Regions from separate parts of the Homo sapiens genome. Here regions 1, 3, 4, 5 and 6 are each linked to region 2. Evidence: promoter capture Hi-C in 16 types of primary human blood cells and fetal thymus (Javierre and others, 2016). All regions are on one chromosome and are shown on one strand. Each heading gives the region's core, a stretch centred on a gene start or on the middle of the fragment in contact. The rest is flanking DNA. Distances are from core to core; before and after follow the strand shown. Region 1 holds the start of STAR (steroidogenic acute regulatory protein). Region 2 holds the start of PLPBP (pyridoxal phosphate binding protein). Region 3 holds the start of EIF4EBP1 (eukaryotic translation initiation factor 4E binding protein 1). Region 4 has its middle 22 kb from the start of ASH2L. Region 5 overlaps DDHD2 (DDHD domain containing 2). Region 6 has its middle 280 kb from the start of LINC01605.

Region 1 (2,854 bases), core at 255-2,754, 390 kb before region 2:
AAGTGATTATCCTGCCTCAGTCTCCTGAGTAGCTGGGATTATAGGCATACGCTACCACTCCCGGCTAATTTTTGTATTGTCAGTAGAGACGAGGTTTCACCATGTTGGTCAGGCTGGTCTCAAACTCCTGACCTTGTGATTTGCCCGCCTCAGCCTCCCAAAGTGCTGGGATTACAGGCATGAGCCACTGTGCCCAGCCCATGCCCTGTCTTTTCAAGCTTTCTGCACATACCAAGACCCCCAGCCCAGCTCACTCAGACAAAGCTACTGGCGGGAAAGTGTGAGGAAGGGTGTGGGCGTGGCCCAGGCCCTCCTCTTCTCTCTGCCGTATACTGATAGGGCTGCCCCGCCCCCCCCCGCCCCCCCGCGACTCAGCCACGAGAGGTCATCCTTGCTCCAGCACAGACCCCTAAGAACCCTCACTCGGAACAGGACTTTGGGAAAGGTGGTTTCTATAAATAGATGAGTAAATAAATTGACAGTTGAATATACCAAGCGTCCTGGGGACCGCAGGAGGAACTGTGTACAGATGGCTTGAAGGCCAGAGGCTTGGGTTGTTGTCCTGGCCCTGCCACTGGCCAGCTGTTTGACCTTGAACAAGTCAGTTCCACTCTGTGGACTTCAGGGTCCTCACCCAGAAGAAGAGCAGCCATATGGTCTCTACTGCCTGGTAAACACCCTGGCTCACTCTCGCGAGACGGTGGTTCTCAAAGTGTAGTGTGTAGTCCACACAACACCTGCATTGCAACCACTGGGTATTTATTTATTTATTTATTTAATTTATTTATTTATGACGGAGTCTCACTCTGTCGCCCAGGATGGAGTGCAGTGGCACGATCTTGGCTTACTGCAACCTCTGCCTCCTGGGTTCAAGTGATTCTCATGCCTCAGCCTCCCGAGTAGCTGGGACTACAGGTGCCTGCCACATCACCCGGCTAATTTTTTGTATTTTTAGTAGAGATGAGGTTTCACCATGTTGGCCATGCTGGTCTCGAACGCCTGACCTCAAGTGATCTGCCCACCTCGGCCTCCCAAAGTGCTGGGGTTACAGGCGTAAGCCACCGCGCCTGGCCAAGGGAAGTTTTTTTCTTTTCTTTTTTTCTTTTTTCTTTTCTTTTCCTTCTTTTTTTTTTTTTTTTTTTTTTTTTTTTTTTTTTTTAACACAGGTTTCTGAGCCTCAATTCCAGATCAGCTGAGCCTGGAGTTTCTGAAGACAAGGGCTAGAAATCTGCACTTTAAAGTCTTGAAAACCACTGTGTGCCTTCATCTAAGCTGCCCCTGCTTCTCTCCCCTCCATCCCTCGCCTGGCCCTGTCCTCCCTACTCTCCCCTGCACCCTCCCCCGCCCCAAGCTCCCCACAAACGGCCAAAGCAGCAGTGTGAGGCAATCGCTCTATCCTTGACCCCTTCCTTTGCACAGTGAGTGATGGCGTTTTTATCTCCTGATGATGATGCACAGCCTTCAGCGGGGGACATTTAAGACGCAGAACACCAGGTCCAGGCTGCAGCTGCGGGACTCAGAGGCGAAGCTTGAGGGGCTCAGGAAGGACGAAGAACCACCCTTGAGAGAAGAGGCAGCAGCAGCGGCGGCAGCAGCAGCGGCAGCGACCCCACCACTGCCACATTTGCCAGGAAACAATGCTGCTAGCGACATTCAAGCTGTGCGCTGGGAGCTCCTACAGACACATGCGCAACATGAAGGGTGAGCGCTGCGGGAAGGAGGCGATGAGGGGTTGGCCAGCTCTCAGCGGATGAGGCTCAGGCCACCCAATTCTGATCCTAGTTGTGCCTCTTACTGGGTGAACCTGGGCAAGTTTCTTCCCTTCTTGAATCTCAGTTTTCCCCTCGGAAGAAGTGGGCTGGTTACTAAGATATATCCCTTCCAGATTCTATAATTTCTGGTCTCCCCTCCAGGACTCCAATCTTTTTTTCTCCTTTTCTTTCATTTTTATTCTTTTTCTTTCTTCCTTCCCTCCTTCCTTTCCTTTCTTTCTTCCTTTCTTCCTTCCCCTTTTCCTTCATTCGTTCTTTTTTTCTTCCGCCTTTTCTTTTTTTTTTGTTTGAATAAAGGTCTCTGTCACAGAGGCTGGAGTACAGTAGAACAATCATAGCTCACTGCAGCCTCAAACTCATGGGCTCAAGCCATCCTCCCACCTCAGCCTCTTGAGTACCTGGGACTACAGGCGTGCACCACCACAACCAGCTAGTTTTATTTATTTATTTTTATTTTTATTTTTTTTAGAGACAATGTCTTGCTATATTGGTCACGCTGGTCTTGACCCCCTGGGCTCAAGGGATTCTCCCACCTTGGCCTCCCAAAGTGCTGGGATTACAGGTGTGAGCCGCCACACCTGGCTTACTTTATTTTGAGATGGAGTCTCACTCTGTTGCCCAGCCTGGAGCGCAGTGGCACGATCTCGGCTCACTGCAACCTCCGCCTCCTGGGTAGCTGGGATTACAGGTGCATGCCACCACGCCTGGCTAGTTTTTGTATTTTTAGTAGAGACAGGGTTTCGCCACGTCGACCAGACTGGTCTTGAACTCCTGACCTCAGGTGATCTGCCTCCCAAACTGCTGGGATTATAGGCATGAGCCATGGCGCTCAGCCTATTTTATTTTTGAGGCAGTCTCGCTCTGTTGCCTAGGCTGGAGTGCACTGGCGCTATCTTGGCTCACTGCAGCCTCTGCGTCCTGGGTTCAAGCAATTCTCCTGCCTCAGCCTCCTGAGTGGCTGGGACCACAGGCGTGCACCACCATGCCTGGCCATCTTTCTTGAACTATTCCTGACTTTGCCTTCCTTCAGAGCTGGACAAGTCTTGTAGCAGGGGTACACAGGAAAGTCTTGCCCACAGTGG
Region 2 (2,874 bases), core at 54-2,553:
CCACCCAATCCACATAGAAACAGTAAGAGAAGAGATTCGTTTATCCTTGCACGATTTAGTCTTCTTGTATCCATCATCCCCTGAAGTTTTCACAGAATCACAGTGTTCTCAAGGACGTGACGGAGTCAGATCAATTAGAAAAATGTCTCCTCTTCCTTCCTTCCACAGCGATGCGTAACCAGCCTCGTTTGAGTCCAAGTCGTGACTACTGGGAGTATGCTGATGATTGACGCTTTCCAGAGAGTTACCCGAACAGGCAGCCCATCTGCCTGAGAGTTTCCCTGAGAGAACCTCCAAGGTGATGTTTATTAGGGGAAGCCCTAGATTTTTCTTGGAGAATCACCGAGAATCACAGAATATTAACATCAGAAGAGATCTCAGAGCTTTCAGAGCTGAGGGCCGGAATAGTTACCTGACTTGTTCAAGGTAACGTCTAAGGAATAGTCAAAGAAAGACTATAATACAGGTCTTGTCTTCAGCCAGCATAAATGCTCGATCAGAGAAACCTGTGACCTCTCTGTTAAGGTCCGTCTCATTCCACACCATTCAGCTTAAACTTGCACTGAGGTGGGCAGATTTTGATTCTTGGTCTAATCAAAGTCCAAGAGGATGTAATATATATATACACAAAAGACGAAAGCTCCCCTTAACCGGCTTGGGATTGGACTTCTCCCTCCTGCCCCATAAACAAGTGCCGCTCTGATGCCAGCGAAGTCCGGCCAGTCCACCCTCACCTCGGCCTCCGGGCGGCACTGGCATTTCTTGGGCACTTAGCAGGTGAGACGCTGCCACACACGCGATCTCGGGCGTCTCTGGCCTCCGCGGGGTGCTCTTGTACCCCCGTCTCCCCTTACCATCCGTGGGCACAGGCCTGGCCCCCCTCGCATCCGCCAAGGCTATCGACCCCGAAACGACGCGGTGCGCAAGTGGCCACGACACCTAGGCACTAAGTCATTTTCCCGAGGTAGCGGTACCCTCTGCTCCAACGAAGCCAATCTCCAGAAAACCTAACAGACTCAAGGTAAGGAGGCTGGGGAAACCCTTCGCTAGCCTTTCGGTGGCCCTAGGCGGCCGACCAGTCCCGCCTCTCTGGGAGACCCCTCTGCGTCACCGTGACGACCCATTCCCACGCAGGTGTCCCTCTTCTCAAGGCGGCCGCCCACCGTCCCCACGCAGCCTCCTTCCTCACCCGCGGCCGCCGCGCCACAGCCTGCTGCACGCGCTCGTTCACCGCCCGCAATGCGCACCCGACTCCCAGCTCGGCCGACATGCTGCCAGCTCTCCACATCCCCCGGGGACCGACGCCGAGCCCCAGGCCCCCGGCAGCCCGTGGCTCACACCATCTTCCGGTTCCGCCCAGCTTGCGCCGTGTGAACCAATCATTGCTCATCATTGAGTCGTCTCACCCAATCAACACCCGTGCAGCGTGGAGGCCCGCCCCCAGGCGGCGGCCATCTTGGGGAGGTCACCCGCGAACCTGGAAATGGAGCCTAGGGGCTGAGGTTTTGCGCGCCTGGTTCCAAGGGCCACTCCCCGTGTGCTCTCCTCTTTCCTGCGCCTCAGCCGCTGCCGTCCCCCCACCCCCAAGGGACTTTTGTGAGGCAGAAACGCATCCTATACTCGGGGGATCCTGTTTCCTTTCAAAACGCCTTTCCAGGCTTGCCCGTTCCCGGCTTTCTGGGCGCGGGGACCAGAATTAGAAGCCACTGGGGCGGGAGCCAGGGCTTTTCTCTGTCAGATGGTTCTTGCGAGGAACCCCTAAGCGATACGAAAGGAAACTCTTCTTTCTTCTTTTCCCTAAAGACATGGCGTGATTCAAACGTATCGTGATTTTTGTCATCTTTCAGACCACTGCTGTCCAAGAGAAATATAACGCCATCCAACTGTGTAATTTGGAAGTTTCTCATAGGCACATAAGCTTAAAAATTTTAATGATATACTTTATTTAATCCAATATATCCAAAGTAAGATTTCAACATGCAATCAATAGAAAAACTAAATGCGATATTTTAATTCTTTTGAAAATCGTATGTGTTTCTGAAACCCGGTGTAGTGTTGACTTGCATATGTCTCAATTCGGGCCATCCCTATTTCGAGAGGTTAGCGGCCACCTGCGGCCAGTGCTGTCTCATCAGGGGACACAGGCAGCATGATTATTACTATTATTATTATTGAGACAGTCTCGCTCTGTCACCCAGGCTGGAGTGCGGTGGCCCGATCTGGGCTCACTGCAACCTCCACCTCCCGGGTTCAAGCGATTCTCCTGCCTCAGCCTCCCCAGTAGCTGGGACTACAGGTGCGAGCCACCGCGCCCAGCCCACAGGCAGCTTTAGATGGTCTAGCAGGAGCTCAGCACATTCAGTTAGATTCTTTTTTTGAGATGGGGTCTCGCTATGTTGCCCAGATTATCTGGGACTCGTGGGCCCAAGCAATCCTCCCACCTCCGCCTCACAGAATAGCTGGGACTACAAACGGGCACCACAACGCCCTGAGTTTGATTCTTGAGTCCCCTTCTGTGGGCAATATGGTTATAAACTTGATGAGGAGCCAGGCCATACAAATAATAATACAGAATGCTACATAGTCAGGTGGTGAAATAGTAGGTGCTACGGGCAAGGAGAAGGAGATCAATTTTGTTAAGGAAAGCACTCTTGGCTGCAATTTCTGTTGAAAGTTTCTCAAACATTAATTCAACTTAATGAAGTGGGATGCTATTATATTAGAGAAATGGCTAATGTTTGTTCTTCAGGTGGTCTTGTCTTGAGGTGATGGGGTTTATTAGAGCTTTCCGGAAAGAAGGGGCAATATTCTTACTCTCTCCTCTCACAGTTTTTCCCCAGACTCCCAGGAACAGAGATGGAATTTCACATCTTC
Region 3 (2,987 bases), core at 365-2,864, 270 kb before region 2:
CCTTCAGGCCGGCCTCAGGGCCCACCCTGAACAAATCCAGCAGACACTTACACCCTCATTTGAAAGAACTCCAAAATTGTCAGGAATTGTCCTGGTAGACCATTGTGACAGAGACAAAGGAGAACAGCATGGACTACAAAAGACCCAGCAAGGGAAAGAGGATGAGTCGGGAATGGCAACAAGAGCCCCTGCGAGCTTTTCCTTGGCTCATTTCTAATAGAAAAGGAAGCATTTCTCCCTTCTCTGCCTGGTTGCTATTTCTTGTCCAATCTGGGAAAACGGTGTGACAATGGGCAACAGACACGTGTTCAAGCTCTGGGGCCTCAATGCCGGGCTCTGTAGAATAAGACGGCAGGGCTGGACAAGATCCCTAACCGTTCTAACAGTGTATGTTTTGGATCAAACAGCAGAGGACCTCGGATCTGGCCGCGCTCGCTGCTGGTGGGACAGCTGCCTGAGAAAATAAGCATGTGGCCCCCGCCCGCCACCTAGCCAAGCGCCAGGATCTGTCGCGTTTTCTAGTAGTATGGAAAGCAGCGTGGAGGAGAATGAAGGGAGAGGAGCAAAAAGGGGTGGGGGCAGTGCGACAATGAGAGGGGAGGAGAGAGCCACGAGGATTTATTTCATCATGCAAACAGGCGCGTAGGTTTCATCAGCGTCTGTGCGCTGGGGCTCCGGGGCTGGGAGGGAATGCCAGGTTCCTGAGGGCAGCCCGAGGCTGGCCCCCCCACCCGTGCCAGCTCAGCTTCCTCTTCCTCATCCTCTCCCAGGGAGGTCACACGGTGCCTCCTCCTCTCCCCGGACAGAAGAACGTGTTTTTCTGCACAGCCCTGGCCGTGGCGCCAGGGTCCCCCCCGCGGAGATCCCACTCGCGTAAATGGGGAACGTGCCACAGGTGCCCGGGAGGCGCTGCTGGAGCAGGCAAGCACCCCCAGATCCGAACCTCAGTCAGAGCGCGCGAGTCCAACACAAAACTCGGCGTGCTTCGGGAAGGAAAAAGGGCCCTGCAGGAATCGTTTATCCCAACAGATAATACCCATCCCATAAAAACACCAGGCCAGGCCTCTCCTGGATCGTGGGCCACCCTAACTCCGCCCTCTCCCGCTTCGGGAGCGCCCCCAACACCCACAAGGGGCAGCACAGCTCGGCATGTGGCTGTCCTGGAGGCGTGCGTGTTTGTTAGGTGTCAGCTGTCTGACACCTAACAGAAAGAGGAAACAAACGGGGCAGTTTGTAACTCGGGTCTGGAAGACGCACTCAGAGGGGAAGCGGGCGGCCACTTCCATGACCCTCGCTGTCTCTCCGATGCCCCTTTTCCGTTCTTTCCAATCACGGCGCCCTTGAGCCTGGACACCCGGTCCAATCCGCGATTCCCGATCCTCCCGCCCGCCCAGGAGCCGGCAAGCGGCGTCGCCAAGCCCGCGCCTACCTCCCGGGGTGGTGCTGAAGAGCGTGCCGCCGGGGGTCGTGCTGTAGTCCCCGGGCGGGAGCTGCACGCCGTCGCCGAGCACCACCCGGCGAGTGGCGGGGATGGCCCGGCTTGGGGTCTGGCTGCAGCTGCTGCCCCCGGACATGGTCTCCTGTGCGCTGCACCCGCGAACCTCTCGCTGCCCTCCCGCGCCTCCAGCCTCGCTCCGCCTCGCCCCGTGCCGCCCCGCCCCAGGACGCCCCTTCCGCCTCTCCCGCCCCACGCCCCTGGGATTTGTAGTCCGCGCCGCAGCCCCACCCAGCTCCAGGACGCTGCTTCCACGTGGGATCCCCCGCCGCCCCCCGACCCACTCCCGTCTGCTCACGGGCTCTTCCGCACGGGCGCTGGCGCCGCCCCGCAGCGACTGCCCCTCCGTCCGGGGTCCCTCCCCGCCACGCTGGCAGGGACGGATATGGGGATGGCGGGCGGGATAGCTCGCCTAAATTAATCCTTGGCTGGGTTGGGGGCGGCGACTCAGGACCGCGCGGAGATCCGAGCTGACCCGGCCCACTGCAGGAAGGCCCGGTTTCTGCATTAGGACATCAGGCCTGGTGTACCCTTCGGCACTCCCTGTTTCGTGCCTTAGTTCCTCAGATGAGAAAATGGGGATTGAGTAGTTATGCTCACCGCCCCCCGCCCCGCTTCAATTTCTTGACCTTGATGGGGGTGGGGGTGGAGGGGCTAACAATTCCGTTCCCGGCCTTTAGAGAGGGTGTGGGAGGAGGAGTGAACCAACCAGCGGCGTCCTGGGAGCTAAATTTAGAGCTGGGGGCGCAGAGGTGGGTGGTGGGGAAGGGCGTTGGAGAGGAGTAAGAGTGTCGAAGAGGTTTCCCGATAGCCCCTGAATTGAGTCCAACGTCCACCTGAGGTTTAGTAGGTACTCCTTGGATGGATGGATGGATGGATGGATGGATGGATGGATGGATGGATGTTCAAGGGGAGAGAGAAAAATGCAAGAAGGACCGAGGATGGAAAAGCTTGTTGGGTTTGAGAAGTTCTTAGCATTATGGGCACATATTGTGGGGAAGAGGGTGAAGAGGGGAGGGCAGTTTAAAAGGGAAATTGGGTGGTGCACCTGTAATCCCAGCTACTCAGGAAGCTGAGGCTGGAGGATGCTTGAGCCCAGGGGTTTGAGGCTCCAGTGAGCTGTGATCACACCACTGCACTCCACCCTTTGTGACAGAGACCCTATCTCTAAAAAAATATATAATAATTTTTTAAAAAGGAAATTGGGGTCAGGTCGTTGAGTTTTTCAAATTATGCCAAAGTGCTTGGACTTTGTCTTAGAAGGGCAGGAGATATCAGAGATCTTTTAAGCAGGGGGATGACATGATTTGAGTTGTTTTTTGGAAGGATAACTAGTAGCCAGTGGAGTTTCAGAATGGGCCAAGGAGGGCAAGGCCTGAGATAGGGAGACCTGTTGAGTTTGGTCTCACTTTTGAGGGAAACTTTAGGCCTACAGTGGCTAAGACAGTAGCCACCAGCTACAGGTGCACATTGAGCACTCCAAATGTGACCA
Region 4 (2,815 bases), core at 166-2,665, 320 kb before region 2:
CCCTACAAATTAACCAGGTATCCACCCTATGAGATAGTGTATGGCCCACCACCCCCACTTATATCTCAGTTAAAAGGAGATTGAAAGGAAATTGGAGAACCGACCCTAAGAAGATAAATGCAGGCATTAGGTGAGGTAATGCAAGAAGTACAAAGGTGGGTAAGAGAAAGAATACCTGTTAGCCTTACAGATGCAATACATCTTTTTCAACGTGGGGACTCTGTATGGGTTAAATGCTGGAATCCTACCACCCTCGGGCCCTTATGGGATGGCCCCCATATTGTGATCATGTCTACCCCTACTGCTGTTAAAGTTGCAGGTATTACACCACCACAGTCAACTAAAACCTGCAGCCTCAGTTCAAGACCAATGGACGAGTCAGCAAGATCCAGATCATCCAACTCGACTGATCTTGCAGAGGAACCAAGGCGCAGCAGGAAAAGACAACTGCCCTGCTACGACCACACCAGAGGCTGGTCGGTCAACGCACGGCTGTAGCTTAAGGAAGCATCAAGCTCTGCTCTAGTCACACAACTGGAAGCTGACTAGTCTACGCAAGGCTGAAGCTTAAGGAAACATCAAGCCCTGCTCTAGTCACACAACCAGAAGCTGACTAGTCTATGCACGGCCGAAGCCTGAGGAAGCCAGCACTAGATGAGTAAATGTGGACTGAATTTGCAAATGTAGTTACACTATTGCTTATACTGATTGCCTTGCTGTCATGCTATCTTTGCAACTGCTACCAAACTTGTTGCCCAGGAGGATGCCCGTGCATAGTATAAACTTGATCAGACTAATGACAATAATGTTAACAGGCATGGGAGGAAACCAAGATAATTGTCATCATTGTATGATAGAAGCTTGGTCTGGTAAAGGTATAACTAAAACCCTGTTATATCAAACTTATTATGAGTGTAATAAGTTTGTAAAGGAACTCCCTTGGGGACATGTGTTTATAATCAAACCAGCTACTCCGTCTGTGACACGGAAATAGGCAACCTCAAGTATGTTATAATCCAGGCCTCCTTCCCTATGACTTCTGGTTTTAAATTCAAAATAGGGAAACCTTTATTACCTTCATATGCCAATCCTAAAGACGTTAGAACTGGGAAACTCGTAAGCAAAATGCAGGTATTCTCTTATTCACATAAAGGATCTATTTCTATATATTTTGATGCCTGTCAGGCTGCACACCTCAGCAACCTAAACAATCTAGGAGTAGTCTGCAAGAACTTAGGACAAGAAAGAGTCAGTAGCAAGCCTGCTAAGATCATAACAGGAGAACTAGAAGAAGAATGTCCTGATGGTAACATTCAATGGACCACAAATCAGTTCAGCCAATGCCTTTATGCAGGGAGAGTAGCTCTGCTAACCAGCCAAGAAGCAAAGATTGGTTGTGCAACTAAAACATGCAACCCCCTAAATCTGACCATATTAAGGCCAAACATGCCTTTTTGGACTAAAGGACACCAAGGAGAGCAATCTTTGCTCGAGAAGAAGTAAATCTAGGTATTCAATTAATCATTATTAAAAAGACTCAGCGAGCTGAAGCTCAAGTCAGTCCAATGTCACAGTTCAGATTTTTCAAATCCTTCAGTAAACATTTTAACCCCAGGGAGCCAAAAGTTCAGATTCCACCAATGTCAGCTGAGAACCTACTCACTCAGCTAGCTGAAAGTATTGCTACTAATCTCAGAGTCACCTCATGTTATGTATGTGGAGGTACCAGTATAGGTGACCAATGGCTCTGGGAGGCTAGAAAACTAATGCCATAAGATAACTTTACCATACTGGAATTTGTTACAAGGTTCAATGCAAACCCAAGCGTCTGGCTCTTAAAAACCCCTATCATTAGAAGATACTGCATAGCACCATGGGGAAAAGACTTTCAAACTCAAGTAGGAGATAAAACTTGTTTAGGTCAGCAATATTTTGAATAGTCTAAGAACAAGACACAGTGGAGAAGCTTTATAGACAATTCCTCTGTACCAGATTTTAACCCTCTCTTTCAGTTTCCAGCACTAAATCAGTCATGGTATCAACTAGATGCTCCAAATGTTTAGAAAGCACCGGCAGAACTATATTGGACCTGTGGGACAAAAGCCTATCAACTATTGCCTGAGAAGTGGACTGGAGCCTGTGTGTTAAAGACAATAAGGCCGTCCTTCTTCTTGCTCCCACTGAAACAAGGGGAAGATTTAAGTTACCTGGTCTATAATGAAGAAGGGAAAAGGACCAGAAGAAACGTCTTTATTCAGATAAGTACTGTAGAAAAGATAAACACAAACATAAAGAAGGACATTGAGATAGGAAGCTGGAAGGATAATGAGTGGCCTCCTGAAAAAATTATCAAATACTATGGGCCAGCTACATGGGCTCAAGATGGATCATGGGGCTACCGCACCCCTATTTACATGTTAAACCGAATTATAAGATTGCAAGCAGTACAGAAGTCATAGTCAATGAAACACCCCAAGCCTTGGATCTGTTAGCTTTACAGGCCACTCAAATGAGAGATGCTATATACCAAAATAGGCTAGCATTAGACTACCTCCTAGCCTCAGAAGGAGGAGTTTGTGGCAAGCTTAATTTGACCAACTGTTGCTTACAAATCGATAATAACAGAAGAGCTGTTATGGAAATTACTGCTAGAATGAGGAAGTTAGCCCATGTCCCAGTCCAGACTTGGTCCTGGTGGAGCCCAAACTCACTTTTTGGAGGATGGTTCTCATGCTTGGAAGGCTTTAAAACCTTGATAATTGTTTTTATAGCTATAGTAGGAGGATGTCTAATACTGCCTTGTCTTTTACCTCTC
Region 5 (2,769 bases), core at 53-2,552, 480 kb before region 2:
ATTAACTGCTTGTTCATTTGAGACTATTACAATAGTTAAGAGTATAAACTATTAGACTCAGGAATTTCCTAGCACTTCAGGTCTAAGCTGAGAAGCTTTACTACCTTGCCACCTGTCTTTAACTCTCCAAATCTTCTTATGCAGCTAAGACAATAGACCAAAGACAAGGCTTTATCTCAGCTCACAAGAGCACTGATTAATATTCTCTCACATGCTTTGCAAACCTACCACACTGTACAATGCTTCGAAAGCGGAGATCACAAGCTGGTCCAATCCCATGGACTACAAAAACCAAGTGATCTATTTGTAAAGGTTCTCCTATAAATGAAATTAAAAAGAAAATTATTCTGTATAATTAGTCATGTATTCTAATATCATTCATCATGAAAAGGTTATAAATATGAGCAAGTTAAAAGATGAACAGATAATTTAAAAGATACAAAATAGTCCTTTAAGTACCTAGCAAAAATACACTGATTTTACTTGGTTTCTAATTTATCTTGAAATAAGTCTGTAAAATTTTTTTCAGGACTTTTTTCTTTTTTTTCTGATCTCTGAAAAAGAAAACTCGGCTGGGCGCGGTGGCTCACGGCTGTAATCCCAGCACTTTGGGAGGCCAAGGCAGGTAGATCATGAGGTCAGGAGTTCGAGACCAGCCTGACCAACACGGTGAAACTTCATCTCTACTAAAAATACAAAATTAGCCGGGTGTGGTGGCACATGCCTGTAATCCCAGCTACTCGCGAGGCTGAGGCAGAAGAATCACTTGAACCCTGGAGGTGGCAGAGGTTGCAGTGAGCCGAGATCACACCACTGCACTCCAGCCTGGGTGACAGAGCAAGACTCTGTCTCCAAAAAAAAAAACTCTTTTTTTTTTTTTTTTAAATTATGGTTTTTTTTTTGTTTGTGACAGAGTCTTGCTCTGTCACCCAGGCTGGAGTGCAGTGGCACGATCTTGGCTCACTGCAACCTCTGCCTCCCGGGTTTAAGCGATTCTCCTGCCTCAGCCTCCCGAGTAGTTGGGACTACACGCACACGCCACCACACCTGGCTAATTTTTTGTAGTTTTAGTAGAGACAGGGTGTTTCACCGTGTTAGCCAGAATGGTCTCGACCTCCTGACCCGCCCGCCTCAGCCTCCCAAAGTGCTGGGATTACAGCCGTGAGCCAACACACTTGGCCTTTTTTCAGGTTTTAAAAACTTTTTTTTTTTTTTTTTTGAGACAGAGTCTCACTCTGTCGCCTAGGCTGGAGTGCAGTGGCATGATAAACACTCATTCCAGCCTCAACCTTCTGGGCTCGAGTGATCCTCCTGCCTCAGCCTCCAAAATAGCTGAGACTACAGATGTGTGCTACCATGCCCAGTTAATTTTTGTATTTTTTGTACAGACAGGGTTTCGCCATATTGCCCAGGCTGGTCTCGAACTCCTGGGCTCAAGTGATCCTTCCACCTTGGCCTCCCCAAGTGCTGGGATTACAGGCATGAGCTACCACGTGCAGCCAGGTTTTTAAAACTTTTTATTTCTAAATAACTAGAAATGTACAGAAAACTAGAAAGCATAGTACAGACACTCCCACATACTTTTTACAGAGATTCAACTTTTTAACAATTACATTTGCTTTATGATTCTCTGTGTGTGTACACACACACACACACACATTTATTTTTCTGAATCATTAGAAAGCAGACTACATACATCATCAGGTTGCATGCACCATACCTCTTTAACCCTTTAATACCATAATGTGTATTTCCTAAGTATATTATCTTACATAACCATAATACAGTTATTGAATCCAGGCAACTGAACATTGATAAAATACTTTTATCTAGTATTTCATTTTTATCAATGTTTGGTATGTTTTTAAAGCCTGAAATTTTAAACTCATCTTTTTAAATTACAGTAAAGCTAGGATTTTGTCCAAGAGACAAGAAAAAAGGAATATTATAATCCAATTAAATATATTATAAAACCATAAGTGACCCTACCTAGATAGCAGTGCATAATCAGGTCCTGCTGAAAAACAGTTTTCCTTAGTTGAAAATCTTCAAGGACAAGGAGTTATTACCAGGTATAAATTTCTAGTCAAGTAGGTGGAATCACACTTCTTGGAATTAGGACTAAATCAGTTCATCTGTACTTAGTGACTTCCTGGATAGTATTGCCAAATTTTACCCATCCTACCATATGTTTTAAAAGATATTTTTACATCTATTAAGATTCTTAGTAGACGAAGTGATGCTAATCTCAACTTGGAATAAACCCATATGATTAAAGATGATTTTTAAGCCTTGAGGTAATCTAAATCCACAGAAAAAGGTCACAATTTAAGGAGTAAACAAATACATCCAAAGGTAAGAAAAAATAAACGATTAACATTACCACAATGAATGTCAACAGAGATGTTCTCAACTCCTCTCTTCACAGTTCTTGGTCGACCCTGCTCCGTGGGTGTTGAACCCCAATCATCAGACCCTGCAACTGGCTGGTAATGCACCATAAGCTTAAACAGAACAGATCAGAGCAATAAAAATATTCTGCAATACAATCATCTCTATACAATGCAGTTTTAAGTGTAGAATCATGTCTTTCAAACCACACAGTAAAATCTGAACTGGAGTTTTGATATACAACTCGTATGGCTTGAAATGAGAACCGTGAAAATATATTAGGCTAACAGATCTGTCAATAGTCCCTTTCTACATGGAAGACATGCTCACATAATATGTCAGTGATTTTCTTATTCTACAGTGGCATAATTTTCCATA
Region 6 (2,992 bases), core at 400-2,899, 440 kb after region 2:
CCATATTCTATTTGATAGAAGTGAATCACTATGTCTAGCTCACTCTCAAGGAAAGGAGAATTAATCTTGACTTCTGGAAGGGATATGTACAAAGAATTAGCCAAGATACTTTGAATCTCCATTTCTTCTTATTTCTATTCCTAATTATTCATAGAAAAATCATAGTGCTGAACTTTTAATTTCCATTTTCATACCATGAATTATCAAAATTTGATGTTGAAATGGAACTAGATGAAATACAAATAAATGTGATTACAGACATTTATTAATTATGCAAAACCAAATGATATAAAGCTTTGTTTTGACTACTTCCCCTTTATGATTCTTCTTCTTGGGTTATACTGGATAAGGCCCCTCTTCTACCTTGTGGATTTTCCTTGTAGACTTTTTCCATTGCCCCAGGGACCTTGAATTTGCTTTCAAATTTATGGTCATTCATTTAGAAAATATTTAGGAAATTTGCACGGCCAGTTCAATGAGGTTGTTCAATGGAAGTTTTTGAATCGCAAATAATGGGGGAAGTGTAGTTAAAGTAGCACCTCCTCCTCCTTCTTTGCACTGGCCAGTCCCTGCTCTAAATGCAGAGCGGATCAAGTCAGTTGAGATGCTGCTAAACTTTACCAGCCAGCTGGCCAGTGTCTCATTGAGCATCAATATTGGGACTGGTTGTTTACTGGATGGTGAGAAAAGAAAAGAACTTTTATCTGAGGAATGGGAGTCCTTTTAATTAGCAGGCCCAGAGAGATATTAAAATGAGACAGCAATCACATCCTACTTCCCCCTTGAGCTACGTATTCTTCTCTTGAAACTGCTTGCTATTACTACAGGCTATAAATTAACCTCATAATGCCACACCAGACACTATCAGCCACAACCTATTGCTTAACAATGTCTAGCCAATCACTAATCAATGTTATTTCTGTAAACCAGTGAGAATTCCTGACGAACAACTTTGTATCAATCCACTCCTTGTCCCCTGTTTTGCCTTTAAAAATCCACTTGTAACTGCTGCTAATCAAAGTGTATATTCAGGACAACTTGATTCTGTGCTCCCGAGTTGCAATTTCAAGTTTGGCCCAAATACCTTTCTACTTACACTAATGTGGCCTCAGATTCTTCCTTTTAGGTCAACAATAGCTATGAATGTGTTTTGGTTGTTTAATAGAGGGAGTTTCAAGGCAAGTTGTCATAGTCCGGGCATTATCCATACAAAAACTGGAGACTCTTAGCAGGCCACAGATTAAGGATGACATTCAAGTACGCGAAGCTGGCTCTACCTGAAGCCTTCCCAAGTCCCCAGTCAGGTTCACTTATCCAATCATCCATCCACTTCACACACATTTATTAACCCTGTACTGTGGGTCAGGCATTATGCCAAAGCAAGAGATGACAAATAGTGAAACTGCCTTTGCAAAGATGATAACAGTGAGAACATTATGACAGTGAAGGTGATCTGACCTAACCAACTCCATCTTGCCTTTAACTTCCAAGCTGTCCTTGTTCATTCCTGAACATAGGCTGAACTATGTAAAACTGACATATTAGCCACAAAATTAGAAATTATGGCTCAGGAGTCATTCAGTCAGAGGCCATAGCATTCCTAACCTCCCCAGTTGCTTTGATGGCTAACATTACTATTCTAAGACCTAAGATTGGTGTTTGAGATATTTTCCAGACCTTGCATTCTGATGCATCAGCTGGCACCACCCAGACTGGTAAAGTGGCTCATCTGGTCTTGTGGCTCCCACGTAGGAACTGGCTCAGTGCAAGAGGATGGCTTCAATCCCCTATCATTTTATCCCTGACCCAACCAATCAGTATTCCCCATTCCCTAGCCCCTGCCTGCCAAACTATTTTTAAAAAGACCTAGCCTCTGAATTTTCAAGGAGGCTGATTTGAGTAATAATAAAACTCCAGTCTTCTGTTTAGCTGGCTCTATGTATTAAACTCATTCTCTATTGCAAGTCCCTTGTCTTGATAAATCAGCCGTAGCTGGGCAGTGGGCAAGGAGAACCCATTGGGCAGTTATAATAGTTTCCAAATAGGTGGTGAAAAGCACTGGGATGAGGAAGAAGGGGCAGGGTACTTCTCCTGGCAAAGAGCCAGTCTCAGGGCTGATGTTCAGGGGGCACTAGAGGGTGGTGACAAAGGAGAGAAAGGGACTCAGGACACTTTTCAAGGCTTTGGCACAGAGAGAAGGAAGAAGACAGAAGCACTGTGGTAAGAACTGGGTGCAGGGTGGGACCAGCAGCCAGAGGTTAGGGAGCCATTCAACTATCAGACTTGAGGCCAAATTAGCGGCAAGTGAGACTCACCTGCTGAGACCCTGAGGTGGGCCTAGAACCTCTTCCGTCTCACAGGTCTCAGCGAGGGCAGGGCTGGAAGGTGGGTTTCCAGGCAAGCATGAAGTCAAGTTTCCTGAGCCGGGGAGAGGAGAGCTGCAGAGACTGGCAATTCCTGCTGCACCCCAAACATCCCAGCAGTGGGGATGGCTCTGCAAAGGAGTGGGGAGAGCCAGGCAGGGAGCTGGATGGGCCCAGATAAGAGTCCCTGCCCATCCCTGACACCCACCACACAGGTCCCACTTCTCGGCTGCCTATGGCCAGAATGAATCCCCCAGATGCACAGGCAGGGCAGATGCCCCCAAGAGCTGGCTCCAGGAGGGGTGCCCTGTGTTGGTGGATCCAGTGCCAAAGAGTACAAAGCCCCATAGAGGCGCAGGGCAGCTTTCTCTCCTCCCCTGCAGTAGGGCCTGGCTCCTGCTCCTCAGGGGGTTCATTTCAATGTTAATGAAACTAAGAAGGTGAAGAAAGTTGTTTTCTTCTAGAAATTCCATTTCACCCTTCCTTGCTCTCTGAACATACCTCCCTGATTTAGATACACTGTGTTTAATTAAAACTGTGTTTGTTTTTCTTCCTCCTTTGCTCTCTCCACTTCCCTGTGAAGACCTCTTCCTGGGCTGTCTCTGCCTCCCAGCCCCACCAGGCCTTTG

Evidence for each region. The method cuts DNA at HindIII sites, captures the fragments that hold promoters and counts their contacts. A CHiCAGO score of 5 or more calls a contact.
Region 1: the fragment with the promoter of STAR here is called in contact with the fragment with the promoter of PLPBP in region 2 in 1 of 17 cell types (erythroblasts); the score reaches 6.8 in erythroblasts.
Region 3: a contact is called between the fragment with the promoter of EIF4EBP1 here and the fragment with the promoter of PLPBP in region 2, in 7 of 17 cell types (monocytes, total B cells, activated CD4 T cells and 4 more). The highest score is 8.1, in monocytes.
Region 4: a contact is called between a fragment that was not itself captured here and the fragment with the promoter of PLPBP in region 2, in 1 of 17 cell types (naive CD4 T cells). The highest score is 6.6, in naive CD4 T cells.
Region 5: a contact is called between a fragment that was not itself captured here and the fragment with the promoter of PLPBP in region 2, in 1 of 17 cell types (naive CD8 T cells). The highest score is 5.2, in naive CD8 T cells.
Region 6: a contact is called between a fragment that was not itself captured here and the fragment with the promoter of PLPBP in region 2, in 5 of 17 cell types (M1 macrophages, M2 macrophages, M0 macrophages and 2 more). The highest score is 7.8, in M1 macrophages.

What each region holds. Positions count from the first base shown.
Region 1 is chr8:38,149,602-38,152,455 of GRCh38, reverse strand. STAR (steroidogenic acute regulatory protein) reads left to right here and starts at 1,504. Exons shown (of 7, transcript NM_000349.3): 1 at 1,504-1,701. The coding sequence starts at 1,638. RefSeq lists enhancers at 985-1,017, 1,366-1,665 and a promoter at 216-1,531. The HindIII fragment of the contact is 1,310 bases long and covers 221-1,530 here.
Region 2 is chr8:37,761,074-37,763,947 of GRCh38, reverse strand. PLPBP (pyridoxal phosphate binding protein) reads right to left here and starts at 1,303. Exons shown (of 8, transcript NM_007198.4): 1 at 1,190-1,303. The coding sequence starts at 1,288. It overlaps LOC124901934 (a long non-coding RNA gene), which reads left to right and starts at 684. Exons shown (of 2, transcript XR_007060889.1): 1 at 684-1,021; 2 at 1,135-2,874. RefSeq lists enhancers at 875-934, 1,243-1,537, 1,115-1,574, 1,675-1,754 and a silencer at 1,295-1,615. The HindIII fragment of the contact is 3,991 bases long and covers 1-1,920 here.
Region 3 is chr8:38,029,161-38,032,147 of GRCh38, reverse strand. It overlaps EIF4EBP1 (eukaryotic translation initiation factor 4E binding protein 1), which reads right to left and starts at 1,614. Exons shown (of 3, transcript NM_004095.4): 1 at 1,430-1,614. The coding sequence starts at 1,574. RefSeq lists enhancers at 794-893, 1,523-1,817 and a silencer at 1,394-1,833. The HindIII fragment of the contact is 5,036 bases long and covers 1-2,447 here.
Region 4 is chr8:38,082,523-38,085,337 of GRCh38, reverse strand. No RefSeq gene overlaps it. Among named protein-coding and RNA genes, the nearest start is that of ASH2L, 22 kb to the left of the region's middle. The HindIII fragment of the contact is 1,106 bases long and covers 863-1,968 here.
Region 5 is chr8:38,237,824-38,240,592 of GRCh38, reverse strand. It overlaps DDHD2 (DDHD domain containing 2), which reads right to left. Exons shown (of 18, transcript NM_015214.3): 5 at 2,384-2,504; 6 at 229-318. Among named protein-coding and RNA genes, the nearest start is that of DDHD2, 7.6 kb to the right of the region's middle. The HindIII fragment of the contact is 2,409 bases long and covers 98-2,506 here.
Region 6 is chr8:37,318,109-37,321,100 of GRCh38, reverse strand. No RefSeq gene overlaps it. Among named protein-coding and RNA genes, the nearest start is that of LINC01605, 280 kb to the left of the region's middle. The HindIII fragment of the contact is 2,705 bases long and covers 297-2,992 here.